Linked DNA regions of Homo sapiens: regions 2 and 3 are each linked to region 1. The links are contacts of gene promoters, found by promoter capture Hi-C in blood cells and fetal thymus (Javierre and others, 2016). All regions are on one chromosome and are shown on one strand. The core of a region is centred on a gene start or on the middle of the fragment in contact, and the rest is flanking DNA. Distances in the headings are between cores, read along the strand shown. Region 1 holds the start of TMEM107 (transmembrane protein 107). Region 2 overlaps NEURL4 (neuralized E3 ubiquitin protein ligase 4). Region 3 has its middle 8.5 kb from the start of MFSD6L.

Region 1 (3,330 bases), core at 461-2,960:
TCAGAAAAGGCCAGTGGTGGGGCTGGCATCTGCATTCAGGTTCATCCCTTGCTCCCTCACCATGTTTCAAGGGCTAGAGTCAGCAGCTCTGACTTCTGAATTTTAGGACAGTCATGTGAGGAGAGACCAGAAGTGACTGCACAGATCGGACCTCAGGCTACCCTACCCCTTATCTGTGGGCCAGCCTGGATCCTTCAGATGAGAGGTAAGAGTAGGCTCTCCTTCTGCTATGCCACAAAGGAGTGCTGACAGCGACTTAATATGCGCTGGAATCAGCCTCCAGTGTCCTGGTCCTCCTGGTCCACAATTCTCTGACCCATGTGCCTCATCTCCTTTGCCTCTTCTGAGTTCCCAGTGCTCGCTTCCGTTGCCTCTTCTGAGTTCCCATTGTGCTTTATATCTTTTGTTTGTTTTTTGACAGAGTCTTGCTCTGTTGCCCTGGCTGGAGTGCAGTGGCACGATCTCAGCTCACTGCAACCTCTGCCTCCCGGGTTCAAGCAATTCTCCTTCCTCAGTCTCCTGAGTAGCTGGGATTACAGGAGTGCGCCGCCACGCCCGACTAATTTTTGTATTTTTAGTAGAGACGGGGGTTTCACCATGTTGGTCAGGCCGGTCTCGAACTCCTGACCTCAGGTGGTCCACCTGCCTCGGCCTCCCAAAGTGCTGGGATTACATGCGTGAGCCATCGCGCCCTGCCTGTGCTTTCTATCTTCACACACTTCTATAGCACAGTGCTTATCACACTGAATTACAGATTTGTATCTACCTCCTCCTCATTGTAAAAAGAAACGGTGGGGTTTTTATTATTCCTATTATTTTTGTAGACTTGGGTTCTCACTATGTTGCCTCCTGCCTGCGCCTCCCACAGTGCTGGGATTACAGACGTGAGCCAACATGCCTGGCCAAAAACTGTATTTTACTCTCATTTTGGGATTTTAAGTGCCTAGTAAACAGCAGGATTTAGCACATCGTTGAAGATCTTTGAACTGGAAGGATTGGCTACAGCAGACACTATTGTGTCAGGTGGCTGAAGGGAGTCCTGATAGAAGTGGGTCGTGTGGGAAAGGTGGGCAGGCAGAAAGGATACAGATGAGGCTCTGGGTGCTGTTGAACATGGAGACTCCTGAGAGGAAACCGGCCAGCTCCACTGCAAAGAGGCCCAGGGTGACAGAGAGCGCGGCCACCAGCCTGCAGAGAGGAAGTGGACTGGCCCAGGCCTTTGGACTTATTCTAAGACCCCTCCACTCCCACCACCTCTTCGTTCTGGCCACCCCGTCCCAAGAGCTCACTGAATGTCCTGCTTGTCATACTCCTCGGGGGTGAACGTGAGAGGCAGGCAGGCCTGTATGTTGCTGTCCTGGGAGCAGGGCACAGGAAGAGAAGTGAAAAAGGGGCAGGCTGCAGGGCAGGCCTGGGGGCGGCGGGAAACAAGAAAACCCAAGAGGGTAAGACACTGGGAGGGGGCAGGGTAGGACTAGGACCACTCAGAGATGGGAATGGGGACGGATTGAGTGCAGCCGTGGGTCTTACCCGGGACCAGAATAAGGTGATGACGACCACCAGATGCGCCAGGAGCGTCAGGAAGCGAGAGGGCACAAGCCCTGAGACCCGGCCCATGGCCCTCGGGGACAAGGGCGGCGGTCTCTGAGGCTGGAAGTTCAGAGACAGCGACTCCTGAAGTCTCCCCGCAAGCCGACAAATCTAGACGAACGCCTCCTTCCCGCCCGCTCAGGCACCGCCCAGTTGCCTTGGTAACCGTGTACGCGGGCTCGGCGCCGCGTTCTCGGAAATCCTCGCGAGCAGTACATTCTCCGGCTGCTGCGGGTCTCTCAGGGCCAGCGAAGGTCAGGGGTACCCGAAGGCGCTTCTAACCTAACGGCTGGGTACCCGCGCGCAGCCAGGCCCTTTGTTCCTCAGAGGGTGCGAGGTGGCACAGCCCCGCAGCGCCCGATCTGCCCACGCAGGGCGGATGAACGGAAACCCACCCTGGCCTAGCTTGGGGACACCAATGCTTCTGCTGTTGCCCACGCCGGGAGCGGCCCCCAGCCCCAGCTACGCTGCCCAGTTGTGGATCACTTGAGACCGCTGCCACCACCACGCCGGGCTGAGTTCCCCGCCATGCCGAAGACTCAGACCCGCTCCCCTTCCCCTCCTCTGCATGCCTTTAGCTTCCCACCAAGCTGGGCCTGAGAAACAAGGGACCCGAACCTGGAGAGGCCGGTGTTCCTGGACTGCTCTGCAGTCACAGATTGTCACGGAGCCCCTGGTTGTCTGAGGACCCCAGGCCTGAACCTTCCTTGAGGAAGACTGATTTCTTTCAGACTACTTTGCTCAGTTTGGTGAGGGATTTGCAGAGTGCAAAAAATGGCCAGCGTCCTTAAACTAGCATGGGGATAAGAGCAGAGCAAGGTGGCTGGAAAGAGTGGGAGTGGACGAAGGGAATGGGACAGTCCCTGCGTCTCTGGGAGGCTTGGAGCCGGCTGGAAGGGAAACTCAACTCAGATTTCTTTGTCCCTTGGAGGTGCTGGGCCTCCGACATTGCCCAGCTACAGTCCAAGAAGCTCTTATCATCGGCGACCTCATGACCTTTGGGCCTCAGCGCAGGTCCCTGCAGATCTGAAAGTTCTTTAATTGCTGAGTCAAGTCCCATCCTCAAGGAACCTCCCGGCCCATCTCCCAGGAGAACAATCTCTTCCTACTCCCCACTCCCCATCTCAGTGCTTTTAGCCAGCCTAAACTACAAGCCCAAGAGGCATTTCTCATTCCTTCAACAAATATTTGTATATGTTTATTGATTACCTAGTAAGGGTATTCTAGTCAGGGAGATCAACAACAGACATGCAAACAAATAAATCCGTAAGATAATAGGCGCTACAAACAGGGAAAAGCGGGCTGTGCACTGTGGCTCACACCTGTAATCCCAGCGCTTTAGGAGGCCTAGGAGGGCGGATCACCTGAGGTCAGGAGCTCGAGACCAGACTGACCAACATGCTGAAACCCTGTCTCCACTAAAAATACAAAATTAGCCGGGCGTGGTGGCGCGTGCCTGTAATCCCAGCTATTCGGGAGGCTGAGGCATGGGAATCGCTTGAACCCAGGAGGTGGAGGTTGCAGTGAGCCGAGATCGCGCCATTGCACTCCAGCCTCTGCAACAAGAGCGCAACTCCGTCTCCAAAAAAAAAAGAAACGCTAGAATTATAATTCTATAAAAATAGGGCATTTATAATTCTATTAAAATAGAGCATTTATTTTGTTTTATTTTATTTATTTACTTTTTCTGAGACGGAGTCTCGCTCTGTCTCCCAGGCTGGAGTGCAGTGGCGCAATTTC
Region 2 (3,330 bases), core at 237-2,736, 850 kb before region 1:
ACCAGGTGTAACCTCCCCCTCACTGGCTGCTTGCCACCGTGGGCTGTCCCTTCCCTGGAGCCGGCAGCTACCCCAGCCAACCGTCTTTGCAGAACCTCTCTAACCTGGAAACCCTACTCCTCAGGTGCACAGCAGGCAAGCAGAGCCCGTCCAGCCCCCGCCCTGCTGCCGCACCTGGGGAGTGCAGTGGGAAGGACTTCTCGGTGGCAGTGTTGCTGGTCGCCAGGCTGTTGTCCATGGGGCCGGTGGCATTGGTGATGGACACTTGGACACACTGGCCATAGAGATCGACTACCGCATACACCTCTGGGGAGGAGAGGGAAGGTCAGAAGCCTGACAGCCAGGTGGTCTGGGCTGAGGGTGGCAGGCTGAAAGCCACATAGTCACCTTTACCCGGAGGCAGGCCCGAGCAGGCAGCGCCTTGGTCCTGGCCGTTGATGAAGTAGTGCAGGTCGCCCTTGGCAGTTCGCATCATGCCAATGCGTGCACCTGTGCCCAGCGCATCCAGGTCACACCCATAATTGTTGCGCATCGTGTTACCGTCTTGCATGATGGCTGTACCACTGGGGGGATGGCAGAAGGGGTGAGTCAGCCTGCCAACTTCAACTTCACATTGGCCCCTGCCCACTCCCTGTCTGTCAGAACCCTCCAATGTCTTGGGCTGGTGTCTTGATCTGGGTGTAAGGCCCAATCCTATCTCCTCTGTCCCTGGGATCCCCTTAGGAAAAAGCAAGAACTGCCTAAGATGAAGGAGGACTGAGCCCCTGTGGGCCTGGGCAGGACTTCCCAGAATTCAAGGGGAGGGGACAGGTAGATCCCCTAGGTCTGTCACTACCCACAGCCACCATAGGCCCAAACCTTGCTTCCCTGATCCCAGCCAGCTCCACTCAGCCCCAAGCTGGTCCCCAAAGCAGGAAGCCCAACCTCAGCATCCATGTGTCATAGTCAATGTCTGTCATGGTGTTGGGGAATTCCAGGTCTTCAGGCCGAATAGCAGTCACTCCTGGGAGGAGGCAGGGGTAAGTCAAGGCCGATCCCCAAGGCACAGACATCCAACAGCCCCCAACACACACAGACGGCCCTCACCAGCCTCAATGGAGCCTGACCAGCGGTCCACCATCTTCTGAATGACAATTTCAAACAGCTCTCCATCCCGCAGGGCCCTGCCAGGAGACTGGCGATCAGAGAGGCTCTACTTGCATGGCTGAGGCTGGGCAGGAGGAAGGTGGGGACATGAAAGTTGAGAGACTGACCGGTTGGAGATGACGATGGCGTCATTAAACTCGCTGCGACAGTTGTGGCGGAGGGCGGTGCGGCCCCCGTTAGTGATGACTGCGTTACTGCCGTGCAGCTGATGGAAGCGCAGGTCAGAGCCCCCGGCCCCTGAGGACGGAGAGCTTGGAGACACCTGGTTGTTCCCCTCAGGGAGTGGTTCAGGAACTGGAGCCACCTCTGTAAAAGTGGACATCACCCATCAGGTCTCTAGGTGTCTCTCAGACCTCCCAAGGCCACCCTAACCCCCAGCCCCAGCCCAGCCCGGCCCTCACCCACGTCGTCCACAATGGTGGCCTGGGCCGCCTGGCCATAGAGATCGACGACAGCATAGACGCCCGGGGGCACGTTCCAGGCAGCAGGGCCCTGAGTCATCCCATTGACAAAGAAGTGGAGAGTCCCGTCCTCCCGCCGTACCACGCCCACCGTGTCCCCTGCCTTGGAAGAAGGGGGTGCTGGAGTGAGGAGTCAGGCAGAGTTCCTGCCGGGGCTGGTCCTGCATCAGCCCCGCGGTGTTTGTGATGCCCGCTGCGGCCGCCAGGCGGCGCACCCACTTTCCCACCTTGAGGCGGTCCAGATTGTGCCCGTATTCATCCAGGATGGTCGTCCCATTGTGCATCACCCCATTCCCAGTCATCATCCAGGTCCCTGGGAGGACAAGGAGCAGGAGGGGACATGAGGGGAAATGCAGGGCTCCTCTCCTTGCCACAGCAGCGCCCACAGGACTCCCGAGCCCACAGTCCACCTTGCCTTTTCTTTGATGACTAGATTTCTTCCCTGAGCAGGACAAGAAAACTCTGCAGCTTCCAAGACAGCCACAGCCCTGCCCACGGGACACTCTCTAGCCACTGAATGAGTGGTCACAAGAGTGACAAGTGAAAAAGGAGCTGCAGAACAAGTGCCAGGGCTTTGGGGATAGCTTCCCCCCAAAACCCTATCCTGTCCCTGCCCTTCCTGGGAGCTCACCAGAGCGCAAGTTGGTCATGGTGGAGGGCAACTGGAGGTAGGCAGGGTTGTGGGTGGTGACACCAATTTCAATGGAGCCAGCCCATTTGTCCACCATCTTGTCGATGCGCACCTGGAACACCTCTCCATCCCGCAGGGCTCTGCTGCTCAGCACCACGCCGTGATTGAAGTCATCGGTGGCACTGAGGGCACAGCAAGTGGAGAGTCAGATCCCCAACACACGCTCTCAATGTGCCAAGGCTTAGCCCAGCAATGCCTGCCAACACTCACTGCCCCAAGCCAAAGAACTAAAGCTCAACCTCCAGGAAGCTGCCCCCGCCAGGCTCCCTCTGCCTTCCACTTCCTTGCCCCGCCCCCCCCCCCCCATTAGAATCCCTTCTTCAGGCTTCTCCCCACCCCATGGGCCATACTGGGGCCTCAGGGCAGTGCGTCCCTCGTGGGTGATGGCTGCCTTCTGCCCACAGTTGGGGTGGAAGAGCAGGCGCTCAGGTTCTGCCTGGGCGGCAGGGGCAGCACGGCGGAGAGCACCCTCGGGGGACAGCGCCCGCAGGATGGCGTTGTTTCGGCGGAGACGGTCACTGTGGTTGTTATTGTGGACGATGGTCACCTTCACTGCCATCCCGTACAAGTCCACCACACCATACACCACTGGGGGCGTCAAGGGGGTTGCCACTCCTGTGGCAGGAAGGTACGGGGGTGTGGGAGTGGACAGGGAGAATGAGGGGAGAAAGTCAAACACAGGGAGGCCAAGCACCAAAGAGAAGCAGGAGGATGAGGTACAGCCCCCAGTCCCAGCCCCACCGAAAGCCCCGGCCCAGAGGCTCTCTCTGGGCGGCCCTTACCCTGATCGATACCATTAATGAAGAAGTGTAGGGCAGAGTTGGACTTCCTTGTGAGGCCAATGTGGTCACCCTCCTAATCAAAGAAGACAAACAGTTTAGAGGAGTCCTGAGGCCTGCTCAGCACCCCACTCCACACAGGAACAACTCCAGAAGGTATTCGTGAGAGTCTCAGACCACCCTGGAGGACAGGTCCTGGGTCCTTGTTTTCCAGACATGACAATTTCCACATTTCGTCAATGCTCCACGTGAG
Region 3 (3,330 bases), core at 374-2,873, 610 kb after region 1:
AACCTGAGCATGATGGTTAATGGCTCATTCAATATTTACATTCCTCTTAGCTGGAACCAAGACATGTCAGAGGGTCAAACTCAATATCTTTAACAGCTACAAGATCAGGAGCTGAGAATTGTATTTACTTTTGATTCTGTAAAGCTTAACTGACCTACTGGTAAAGTAGGTAATAGAGTGAAAGTCACAGCTTGAAGTCTAAGACTTTACGACCCAGTCCTTCCTCCATACGCCGGCTTATTTCATAAACTCCATGAGGGTCTTTTCAGAAGGTCCCTGCGCTCAGCTGTCCTGTCTGCCCAGAGAGAAATGCTCACTATTTAAACTTCTCACTTGACATTTACGTTGTCCTGTCCCATTCTGTTTGTGGACATGGTTTTGTGGTTCGGCCTTTCCTTCTAAATTGTCAGTATTGTTCCCAGGCAGGCTTTGTCATAGAAACAAAGTGCAGTTCAAGGTTTCACATCTGCACAAATAGGCAGGGTGGGTAGCATCGGCCTCATATCCAAGGGAGAGAGTCCGTTGAGTGTTACTCCGATCGGACGGGGGGGGTAGTTCACATGTGCATCCCCAAACAATGATTGCGGCCCTGTGAACAAAATGTGCAGAATGGCATAAAGCCATTGGGAGGTGACATTAATTACCCCGGGAAGATGTGGGAGGCATCTGGTGACGTTATGCAGGAGGGAGTGGTAGACGCGTTCCTAAAGACTCACCCAGCACCCTGAAGGATCACAGCCTTGCTCAGTACATACTTATGAAGGAAGGGTGACCTGAAGAACGCTTGAGCCCAGGGCCTTCACTCTGAACTTACTTCCCTCTATCACAGCCTCTGACTCTGCAACACCTCACCCCAGGGTGCCGCCAGCATAAAGACAGAAGCCTGCAGGGCTCAACAAGGAGAAGGGGCAAAGTGAAGAGAATTCGGGAAGCTCGTGACAGCAAAATCACAGGTCATGGAGTAAAGGGAAGACGAAATTAGAAAGGAGGTTTCCTAATTTGGGACATTGGGAAGATATCTGGCAGAAAATCTGCCTCAAGCAGGTTCATCTGTTTAATTAACCTGAGGCCAGTGACTGTTTTGTTGTTGTTGTTGTTTTATCCATGAAATGTGACCAGCATGAAAAATCTGATATGCATATTTCAGAGGACAGCCCCTGTGACATTCGTCAGCTTATTAAAGGAAACAATATGCCCTAAAACGTGAAAAGCCACTTCCTTGAAACCAAGTCGAGGGGGAATGGTAAACCAAAGTTAGCAGAAATAGAAAAGTAGGGTGTTGGTCAGGAAAGACTTCCTATAGAGATGTGCCTGTCAGAAAGATTACTATTCCCATCCCGCATGCTGGAGACCCATGTGGCAAACAGTGTGGCAGGGACAGACTTTGTTTAAACGAAGGAATTTGCACTGAAGATCATCTTCCGCATTTTTATAAACTTTGAAAGCAGTCAGTGGTCTCAGCATTTTCCTACAAAGGCCATATCCCCACGCGTACATTTGAATTCTCAAAAGCTCTTTCTCCAAAAGCATTGCTAATAAAAAATGTAAAAAAAAAGAATTGTCAAAGGGGCCTCTAGAGATCATTTGACTTGGTTCAATATCTTTAGGCTTGTGAGTATGTAAAACTATCCAAGACACAAAGTTATCAAGTCTTTTTGTTTTGTTCTGTTTTTTTTTTCCTCCCATTAAAGCATTCTAGAAACAAAGACCACTGCTCTGAAGCATTTACTATTCTGATAGGTAATGTGCTCTTATAGTCACCTGAGGCTGTTGTTATTCTTGTGTACTTCTATGCTGCTGATTAATTTTCAAAAGCACGGTACAGAGAAAGGGTGCTCAACATTACTAGTTATTAGGGACATGAGAATTAAAATCACAGTGAGATACAGTCTGTCCTCTGTATCTGTGGGCTCCGTACCTGCTGATTCAACCAACCATGGATCAAAAATAATCCAAACAACAACAAAAATAATACAGATGCAAAAGTAGGGAATAACAACTACTTACATAGCATTTACATTATATTAGGTATTTTAAATAATCTAGAAATGATTTAAAGTATATAAGATGATGTGCATAAGTTATATGCAAATACTATGCCATTATATAGAAGGGACTTGAGCATCCTTGGATTTGGTATCTGTAGGAGGTGGTCTTGGAACCAATTCCCCAAGGATACCAAGAAACAACTCTACTACTACATGCCTGTTAGAACGGTTAAAATTAAAGAGATTGATTTTACTGAGTGTTGGTGAGGGTGTAGAGAAGCTGGAACTCTCATGCCCTGCTGGTGGGAATGTAAAATGGCACAACCACTTTGGGAAACTATTAGCAGTTCTTTAAAAGTTAAACATATGTCTACCATATGATTTGGTCAATCCACTCCTTGGTATTTACCCAAGAGAAATGAAAGCGTGTGTTCACACAAAGACTTAGATATGAATATTCATAAAAGTTTTATTTGTAATCATCAAAAACTGAAAGCAATTACATGTTTGGAATTGAAATGTATGGTAATATAATACAATATAAATGAATGGATAAATCGTGGTATATCCATGCAATGGAATACTACTCAGCAATGAAAAGGAAGAAACTATTAATGCACTTAAGATCATTGCTGATTTTCAAATTAATTATCCTGTGTAATAAAGAATTTGGCCTTTGTCCCCAGTTCCTGGGAGATAGGCTCTAAATCCTTGGAATTTTCCAAGTCGAAGAGTGTCTTTTTTACTGGTGGTTGGCCTGTCAACCACACTTGAGTTTATGCTAATGAGGTGACTCATGATGGGACCTTACACAATTTATGCTAATGGAATGACTCAAGATGGGGGCTGGCCATGCCAGAAAAACCAACCATGTATTTAGAAGGTTGGGGCTTTGAGCTTTTGATATAGGCCTGACTTCTGGGGAGAGGAGCAGGGCTGAAGATTGAGTCATAGGCCAGTGATCCAATGAGTCATGCCTATGTGATGAAGCCCCTAATAAAAACAATGGATATCAAAGCTCGGGTGAGTCTGACTGCTTGGCTACGCTCAGTGTCTTGTCTCACATCAGTGTGCTGGAAGGGTCCTTTGTCCTGACTCCACAAGGAGAAGACATGGAAGCTTCATGTTTGGGACACTCCCAGTCCTTGCCCTGTGCATCTCTTCTTTTGGCTGGTTCTGATTTTGAAAACTTTGGCTACAATAAAACTGTAATAATAAGTGTAGTTCTTTCGTGGGTCTTGTGGGGTTTTCTAGTGAATTACCAAACCTGAGAGGGGAGTGGGAAGCCCCCAAAATTGTGACTGCATCTGAAGTGGGAGCAGTCTTGAGCCCTTAACCTTGA

Evidence for each region. Contacts are between HindIII fragments. The CHiCAGO score rates a contact against its expected background, and 5 or more counts as called.
Region 2: a fragment that was not itself captured here is called in contact with the fragment with the promoter of TMEM107 in region 1 in 1 of 17 cell types (activated CD4 T cells); the score reaches 6.1 in activated CD4 T cells.
Region 3: a contact is called between a fragment that was not itself captured here and the fragment with the promoter of TMEM107 in region 1, in 1 of 17 cell types (neutrophils). The highest score is 5.5, in neutrophils.

Annotation. Positions count from the first base shown.
Region 1 is chr17:8,174,670-8,177,999 of GRCh38, forward strand. TMEM107 (transmembrane protein 107) reads right to left here and starts at 1,711. Exons shown (of 5, transcript NM_183065.4): 1 at 1,531-1,711; 2 at 1,290-1,357; 3 at 1,088-1,188. The coding sequence starts at 1,617. It overlaps LOC105371520 (a long non-coding RNA gene), which reads left to right. Exons shown (of 4, transcript NR_188261.1): 2 at 107-205. RefSeq lists enhancers at 1,099-1,148, 1,199-1,258, 1,250-1,861, 1,289-1,338, 1,499-1,588 and 3 more. The HindIII fragment of the contact is 13,203 bases long and covers 1-3,330 here.
Region 2 is chr17:7,322,561-7,325,890 of GRCh38, forward strand. NEURL4 (neuralized E3 ubiquitin protein ligase 4) reads right to left here. Exons shown (of 29, transcript NM_032442.3): 7 at 3,081-3,153; 8 at 2,649-2,913; 9 at 2,239-2,420; 10 at 1,835-1,920; 11 at 1,548-1,710; 12 at 1,254-1,452; 13 at 1,087-1,163; 14 at 925-1,003; 15 at 388-563; 16 at 175-306. Among named protein-coding and RNA genes, the nearest start is that of NEURL4, 5.1 kb to the right of the region's middle. RefSeq lists enhancers at 781-1,287, 1,288-1,793, 1,535-1,744. The HindIII fragment of the contact is 3,934 bases long and covers 1-3,330 here.
Region 3 is chr17:8,789,165-8,792,494 of GRCh38, forward strand. No RefSeq gene overlaps it. Among named protein-coding and RNA genes, the nearest start is that of MFSD6L, 8.5 kb to the right of the region's middle. The HindIII fragment of the contact is 2,963 bases long and covers 143-3,105 here.